3 separate regions of the Homo sapiens genome follow, and regions 1 and 2 are each linked to region 3. The links are contacts of gene promoters, found by promoter capture Hi-C in blood cells and fetal thymus (Javierre and others, 2016). All regions are on one chromosome and are shown on one strand. The core of a region is centred on a gene start or on the middle of the fragment in contact, and the rest is flanking DNA. Distances in the headings are between cores, read along the strand shown.

What was found. The method cuts DNA at HindIII sites, captures the fragments that hold promoters and counts their contacts. A CHiCAGO score of 5 or more calls a contact.
Region 1: a contact is called between a fragment that was not itself captured here and the fragment with the promoter of TMEM128 in region 3, in 2 of 17 cell types (total CD8 T cells and naive CD8 T cells). The highest score is 5.6, in total CD8 T cells.
Region 2: a contact is called between a fragment that was not itself captured here and the fragment with the promoter of TMEM128 in region 3, in 1 of 17 cell types (total CD8 T cells). The highest score is 5.2, in total CD8 T cells.

The regions. Positions count from the first base shown.
Region 1 is chr4:4,527,512-4,530,211 of GRCh38, reverse strand. The region is part of intron 1 of STX18 (syntaxin 18); the gene reads left to right. LOC107986254 (a long non-coding RNA gene) reads left to right here and starts at 1,069. Exons shown (of 2, transcript XR_001741564.2): 1 at 1,069-1,763; 2 at 2,465-2,700. The HindIII fragment of the contact is 1,660 bases long and covers 424-2,083 here.
Region 2 is chr4:4,568,625-4,571,324 of GRCh38, reverse strand. The region is part of intron 2 of LOC124900165; the gene reads right to left. All of the region lies in intron 2 of STX18-AS1 (STX18 antisense RNA 1 (head to head)), which reads right to left. LINC03091 (long intergenic non-protein coding RNA 3091) reads left to right here. Exons shown (of 5, transcript NR_199719.1): 3 at 2,379-2,506. Among named protein-coding and RNA genes, the nearest start is that of LINC03091, 5.9 kb to the left of the region's middle. The HindIII fragment of the contact is 2,011 bases long and covers 435-2,445 here.
Region 3 is chr4:4,246,900-4,249,599 of GRCh38, reverse strand. It overlaps TMEM128 (transmembrane protein 128), which reads left to right and starts at 1,377. Exons shown (of 5, transcript NM_001297551.2): 1 at 1,377-1,494. The coding sequence starts at 1,398. RefSeq lists enhancers at 997-1,106, 1,409-2,035. The HindIII fragment of the contact is 7,732 bases long and covers 1-2,700 here.

The sequences.
Region 1 (2,700 bases), core at 4-2,503, 280 kb before region 3:
TTTCTGCTTCTATCATCCAGAATTTCTTTAATGAGCACATTTACTTTTGAAATGAAAAGCAAAACAGAACAAGTAAAACTCCTGGCAGATGAGTTTTTATTTGCTGTGGTAGGAAATGGAGAATTAATAGCTTTTGATTAGAAAAATGTTATGAGCAAGCAATATCTAATTCTATATTAAATGTGCAGTGGAGGGGTGGGGGCTATTTAAAGGAAGTCTGTGGTAAAATCTTTTGTAAAGGGAGTAATTTTCCTGTAACTCAGCTGGATTTCCAATCCAGACTTTCTTAATCTATATGAGAAAATCATCCACAAATGTTGCATTGATGTCTTAGTTTCTGGTTGTTATTCTAAAGCATAATAAATGATAATAATGGCTACCACTTGTTGAGCACCTACTGTACCTGGCCCTGTGGTAAAAGCTTTATAATTTATTTGACTATCCTTTCAAGTTAGGCTCCTTTATTCATGAAGAAACCGAGGTTCAGAAGGGTAAGCTATCTCCCAAGATGACGTCCCTGGTGCTGTGAGATGAGTAGTCCTGGCACGTGTGTGCTGTGCTTCTCCGGTTGCCTGCTGCCTCCCCAGCTCTTGGGCATGCACAGGTGTCCTGTGGCAAGTGTGTCCCAGGCTGGGAACTGTGCTCCACTTGGCATTCCACAGACCACGCCTCTGGGGATTTGCTCTTTAGTATGTTATCACATCATCTGCTGTCTTTAGGAGCATATTTTGGTGCATACATTATATATTTGAAAGTGCTTGACTAACTTTTGGGGAAATATGGCTGCTTCCAAACCAACCTTTTTCTTTTAATCAACAATTACCTTGTGACCGTGCATTTCTTTTCTTTCTTTTTTTTGAGACGGAGTCTCGCCCAGGCTGGAGTGCAGTGGCGCGATCTTGATTCACTGCAAGCTCCGCCTCCCTGGTTCACTCCATTCTCGTGCCTCAGCCTCCTGAGCAGCTGGGACTACAGGCACCAGCCACCATTCCCGGCTAATTTGTGTATTTTTAGTAGAGACAGGGTTTCACCGTGTTAGCCAGGATAGTCTCGATCTCCTGACCTCGTGATCCGCCCGTCTCAGCCTCCGAAAGTGCTGGGATTACAGGTGTGAGCCACCATACCTGGCCAACCATGCGTTTCTTAAAGATAAGTGTTGTGGTTTGCTTTTGGGGAAAAGAGAAAAGGATTTGTGGTTTTAGTTAGTAAAATCATTGAGAGGGAAGGAGACCCAATTTATGGATTATAGACATTTGAAAAAAAATTGTAATTCCCTTTTCTGTTGTTGGGATACCAGTTTTTGATTTTATTTGTTCATTAAATGGTCAGTTCCGTGGAGATCTCTGGAGCTGAGATGGCTTTTTAGAATTGCCCAATTGAGGCAAAGGGCCAGGGCTTTTTAACCACTGCATTGGCCAGCCATTGTCTGTGGGCTTCTCCCAGGGAAGGGCCCTAGTGTTGGGTGAGGCACCTTCCTGCTGCTTGAGACACACTCGGCTGTGAGCCAGCAGCAGGCAGTTCTCCTAGTACCTGGGGGCCTCAATCCGAAAGATGCAGTTTAGCCACACAACCTGTATTAGTTCATTTTTTGCATTGCCATAAAGGAATACCTGGAGCTGGGTAATTTATAACGAAAAGAGGTTAATTTTGGCTTATGATTCTGCAGACTGTACGAGAAGCATGGCATCGGCATCTGCTTTTGTGAAGCCTCAGGAAGCTCACAATCATGGCAGGAGGTGAAGGGGGAGCAAGAGTGTCACATGGTGAGAGAGAACAAGAAGAGAGAAGGGGGAGGTCCCAGACTCTTTTAAACAAGCAGATCTTGTGTGAACTGAGCAAGAATTCACTTATCACCAAGGGGACAGCGCTAAGCCATTCATGAGGGATCAACCCTCATGATCCAACACCTCCCAGCAGGCCCCCCCTCCAATATTGGGGATCACATCAAGAGGCTGATCTTTATGGGCTGCATAGTGGGGTTTCCTTGCCCCCTGGCTTCTGATAGGGGTCAACTAATGGGAGGCTCCAGCAGGAGATGGGAAGGCTGGAAAAGAGGAGTTGGCTTGGGAACTGGGTAGAAGCTTTGCATCCACAGCCCATGACTCAGGTTAGGTGTCTGCCCACCAGCTCTAGAATTTTTCCGCTGTGTAAGTCTAGCATCCTGGGGGTTAGGATGATTTAGCCAGTAGGCTAGTACCAGCCAGCAATGGACAAGGCAGCATTGCAGCCTCACTCAGGGTGACCCTGAAAGACAGTGGCTAAGGGATGTCTTCCCCATGCCCAGAACTTGGGCCAAATCATCACTGCCTTTTAATTTAAGGTAGTTTTTAATATATATATATATGTGTGTGTGTGTGTGTATATATATATAAAGACATATATATATAAAATTATATATATATAAAAACATATATATATATAAAATTATATATATATAATTTTTTTCTCTATCTTTCTTCCTTAGGCTCAGCATTACAGTGGGAAAAGTCAAGTATTTTAGGCTCACACAGATTTTTCTCTCAGTGACGTGGCAGTTCATACTTTCCCTCCAAATATGACCTGGTAAATGACTCTGTGGCATGTTGACTGCAAATCTGAACTGAAATGGAATCTGTAACCCATTATCAGATCCTGAATCAAGCTGCCTTGTCCTTCTCCAGTTTTTGTTTCAGTGGAAATGTGTGTTTTTATTCTGTCAAT
Region 2 (2,700 bases), core at 191-2,690, 320 kb before region 3:
AGGTCAGACAAATGCAGATTGAAGGATATTCTATCAAATGATTGGCCAGTCATCTTCAAAAGAGTCAAGGTCACGAAAATCACAGAAAGACTGAGAAAACATTTCAGACTGAAGGAGACTAAAGGAGCTTGATATCTAAAGGCAATGTGTGATTCCACCCTGGCTCCTTTTGTTATAAAGAACATTATTGGGACAAAGGATGAAACCTGAATGTGGTCTGAGGTTCAAATGGTAAAAATGCATGTTGTGAACGTCGTGATTTTGATGGTCATTCTCTCTGTTTGTTGGAAATGCATAGTAAAGTGTCCAGGGGTGACAGGCATCATGCTGGCAGCTTACTTTCAGATGACTCAGGGACAAAAATTATTTGTCCCATACTTGTAACTTTTTTTGTAAATTTGAGATGGTGTTAAATATATAGGATGTATAAAGCTTAGATCATATTACTCCACTGCTCAGATTACGATTTGAGATGAGATTTGGGTGGGGACACAGAGCCAAATCATATCGCCATGGAACCTGAAGGTGTCCAAGGAGGGGGACGCCTAGAGGTTGGATACCTTTTCTGGTACGTTTTATATCTCATGTTCCTATAACCCACCCCCTACCCCATGAGAAAGTCACAATTCAACCAGCACTGACACGTTCCCTCCTTCTAGTAGAGTTAGGCAGGTGATTGAGACATGGATATGGTTACACTGTAACCTTAGTGCTTCCCTATCACCTTTGGGATGAATATAGAGTCCTGACCATGGTCCCTGAGCCCTAGATGGCCTGGCCCACCTCCTGTCTCAGCCCCTGTGCCTGGCTGTGTTTCAGCTACATTGGCCTGCTGGAGGTTTCTGGAACAGGTCCAGTGCTCTCCTGCCTCTGGGCCTTTGCACTTGCTCTTCTCTTTGCTTGGAGTGTGAACCCTCAAGATTTCTACATGGTGCTCCCTGTGCAAATGTCCCCCATCAGAGAGGTCTTGGAAAATAGCTCCTCCTCCTCCTGGTCACCTGCATCCCTCCACCTGTGTTAACTTTCTTCATCATGCTTTCACTGCTTGATATTTTAAGATGGTAATATGGTTTGGCTGTGTCCCCATCCAAATCTCATCTTGAATTCCTACATGTTGTGGGAGGGACACAGTAGGAGGTAATTGAATCATGGGGGCAGGTCTTTCCTGTGCTGGTCTTGCGATAGTGAATACGTCTCGTGAGATCTGATGGTTTTAAAAATGGGAGTTTCCCTGCACAAGCTCTCTCTTTGCCTGCTGCCATCCATGTAAGACGTGACTTGCTCCTCCTTGCCTTCCACCATGATTGTGAAGCCTCTCCAGCCATGTGAACCTGTAAGTCCATTAAACCTTTCTTCCTTTTGTAAACTGCCCAGTCTCAGGTATGTCTTTATCAGCAGCATGAAAACAGACAAATACAGATAGGTTTCCCTGTGTGTTGTTTGTTTCTTCACTAGAAAGTCCACTCTCTGTGGGCAGGAACTCTGTGTTGCTTCTCTCTACTCCCAATGCCTAGAAGAGTTCCAGCACTGTGGGGATGGGTCAGTGATTATTCCTGAGTAAGGAGTGACAGGCCCCTGGCGAGGGCCTTCCCTCATCACCTTGCAGCAAGGTGGGCCTACCTACGTTCTCATTTTGAAGATGAGGAAGTTGAGACTCAGAGAAGTGAAGTGATTCACCCAAGGACACACAGACAATACCCAGAGGAAATAGGATTTGAACTATCAATGAAAAAAAAAAAAAACACACACACACACACACACACACAGCGCAAAACACTTGTGAAAGGTGGCAAGACAGGTTTTATTCAGACTCCTGCTTTGGGGGAGATTCCAGGTCAGACAGAACTCAGCCCCAATTAAAGGGGACTGAGGCTTCTGAAGGGAGAACAGAGAGAGAACAAAAAGGGATGCTGGGGAAGTGAAGAAGGGGGAACAAAAAGGGCCTGGGGTTTATGTGGAAATGGAAATTACAGAAGGGGTCACTAGAGAATTCCTGAAAACAATTTGGTGCAAGCTGGGTTGGGACAATGCACATTTTGTGGTTTGGTAGCATTGCATTTTCTTGAGTAAAGACTTAGTGCAAGGCAGGGGTGGGGCCACCTTTAGAGACACAGCCTAGAGCAGGCGGAGCCAGCCTGAAATGTGGTCAAGTCTCAAGCATGGTGCCTAAGGGAGCGATCTGTGCCTCCTGAGAGCTCACTGTTCACAGGCCCAAGCCTTCAAACTCTAGAGCAAGGCACAGGGAGCGGGATTTTGCAAATTATTTTTCAAAGGAAGTCTCAGGGGCAAAGGAGAAGCCCATTGTCTTCTCCTTTGTATCATTTGTATCATTGTCTTCTCCATTGTATACATTTCTTTTGTGTCTTGTCCTCTCACAGTGTCCATCAGAAGGCCCCTGCTGAGTAGTTGGCAGGGTGGCTGCACATAATGGAAAGCACATAAGCTTGAAGCCAGACAGATGGGAGTTCTAACCCCAGCCCTGCCACTTATTCCCAGGTGACACTGAGTAAGTGACTTAACTTTCCTCAGCCTGAGTTTCCTAATCTCAATCACGTTACCCACCTGGCACCTTGTTGGAAGGTTTATATAAACCAAAATGTGTACATGCTAAGCACAGTATGTGGCCATAGGCAGTTCTCAGTAAGGGGGATGATAAATCTATCATGGGCTGGGTTTTGACACTGTTCACCCGCGCCTAGC
Region 3 (2,700 bases), core at 128-2,627:
AGGCTGGTCTCAAACGCCTGACCTTGTGATCCGCCCGCCTCGGCCTCGCAAAGTGTTGGGATTACAGGCGTGAGCCACCGCGCGCGGCTGGCACTCTTTTCTTGAGTATTTCTTATTACATTCCTTTTACAAACACCCCAACACATCGAAGATATTAAACAGTGCCTACTAATTCAAATTTTACTTCCTATGTAGCTGGCTCTCCACCCCTGTATTCAACTCACCTGAAACCACTCTCCCTGCTCTCCCACACTGCAGCAGAATAAACTGCCCTTTATATGTACAGTGTTTCTATTATGCCCCATGTACAGTGTTTTTATTATGGCACTGTATTGAAGCTGCTTCCTCTACTAGATTCTTCTGTCCTCACCATTTTATCACATGCAGCTGCTCAGAAAATGTTGGCTGCATTGATGAAATGCTTTCATACATTTACAAATAGAGTTTTCTTGTAATATACCTCTGTGGTTTTCTTTGGACAAGGAGCTCCTCACGTGCAAGGCCATGTCTTACTCATCTTTATCTCCACTGCTAGCATGGTGCCTAACAGCTCCTACCAAATAGTAGATGCTCAGTAAACGTTTGCGTGGCTAAGCCCACCATTTCTCAGCACATGACACGCTGGGAAACGGCTGGGAGAGTAATACGCGGGATTATTGACGAAGAAAAAGTTGTGAACTCGTAACACACAGTTTGTGGGCGTGAGCAGTGTGGAAAACCGCAGTTTGCTGGGAAAGCAATTTAGTTCCCTCGGTTCAGGCTGGGAGGATTTTTCACAAGTGGCGAGGAGGAGGCTCACATGAACCACATACAGGTACTTCTCACTGAAACGCACAACAAATCTAGAGCCAAGTGTAATAACGAAACGGGCCCCAAGAAGTTTATTTAATGCCCAGGGCCCCCAAGTGGTCACTGCCAGGCTCTAGCATCCTGTCCAGCAGGCCTTTCTCCTCCTTTCAAGTCTTGCTGGACGACTCCTGAAAAGCAAAAGTAGGAAAAAAACTGGGGGCTGAGAGTGGAAGGCTGGACAGAGGGTATGTCTCCTGCTCTGGCACCCGGAAGCCTGCGAGGGCTTCGGAAGCGCAGCGTCTCACGGTCGCGCATCCCGGCCCTGGACGCATCCAGCGGCAGCGGTAATCCTGGTCCTCCTGGGCTTCCGTAGGTCGGAATAAACTTGGGAACTCTTCCACCGGCAAAGCTCAGTGTTTTAAAATTCAAATCACACTTGCCGACATGAGAGCGGAACCTTTGAGGCCGACTCCACCCTAGCTGCTCGCTAACTAAACAGCGAAGAGAACACAGTCTCCAATCCAAACGCCAGGAGGTCCAGACCCGGAGCGGACGCCGGAAGCGCTGTGTCTGACGTCACTTCCGTCGCATTTCGGGGCGGTACCAAGATGGACTCCTCGCGGGCCCGGCAGCAGCTCCGGCGGCGATTCCTCCTCCTGCCGGACGCCGAGGCCCAGCTGGACCGCGAGGGTGACGCCGGGCCGGGTGAGGCGCGCACCAAGCCGCCCCGAGGTTCTCAGAGGCGAGGCGTCGGAAAACGGCCGGCCTCCGGCAGCCCTGGCCCAGTCTGGAAGGACTGAGTTTCGGCTTTGCAAGTCGAATATTTAATGTCAGGGAAGATCCTTAGAATCGCGGAGTGCTGTGCATCGTCATTTCAGCTGCGCTTCAGAATTCTCTGGAGAGCTGATTTGACACCTATTTGGAAATAGCGATTAAAATTAAAAATACCCACCAGTTTTAAGTCTTAAGGATTTACCAGAAACATGCGTGTACCGCAGTGTACAATGATGTGCGCAGTGTTTCACTTCAGGATTGCTTGTAATAGCGAATTACTGGAAATATCTGCCTTGCCCGTCAGCAGAAAGCTGTTTAAGTAAATTTGGGTATATGTATACCTGACACATCAGGTCGACTCGTATGTACCAATGGGGATGATTTTCAAAGGGAAGTGTGGAACACTATGGTATGCCGCCATTTGGGTACAAAACAGGTAACTTGTGATGTATGTTCACCTGTGAATGCATAGAATATGGAAGAATTCAGTAGAAATTGTAAGTGGTGGTTGCTTCTGGGGATTAGATCTGAGGTTAAGGATGGGAGACAGATACTTCATTTTGGATATTTTTTATCTCATATGTTTTAAAACCACGTCCATTTATTACCTTTTAAAATTAAAAACACGAATAACCTCATGCCCAGGCATGATGATGTATACATTTTGAGGATATCCCAGAATATTACGAACATGCTTCCCAGGGTTTCCGATGGTCATCTAAAGGCCCAAAACCTCAGATGTGGACCATTGATTCTCACGTGAACCTAGAGGGCATGTCAGAATCCCCGGAAAACTTAATAGAAATCATCCATCTGACCCAACCCCCATCCACCCATTCTTTCAGATTGCGTTCCAGACAGGAAAAATGTCTTGTCCATCACCTGTCTAGACAGTGCTGTGCTGGAACTAGAGCTCTGGTGTGCCGTTTCCACTTTTGAGCTGTGTTTAAAGTAACTAAAATATTTAGTTATAGGCTGGGCAGGGTAGCTCACGCCTGTAATCCCAGCACTTTGAGAGGCTGAGGCGGGCTGATCACGAGGTCAGGAGTTCGAGACCAACCTGGCCAAATAGAGCAGCCTGGCCAAGATGGTGAAACCCCGTCTCTACTAAAAATACAAAAATTAGCCCGGCGTGGT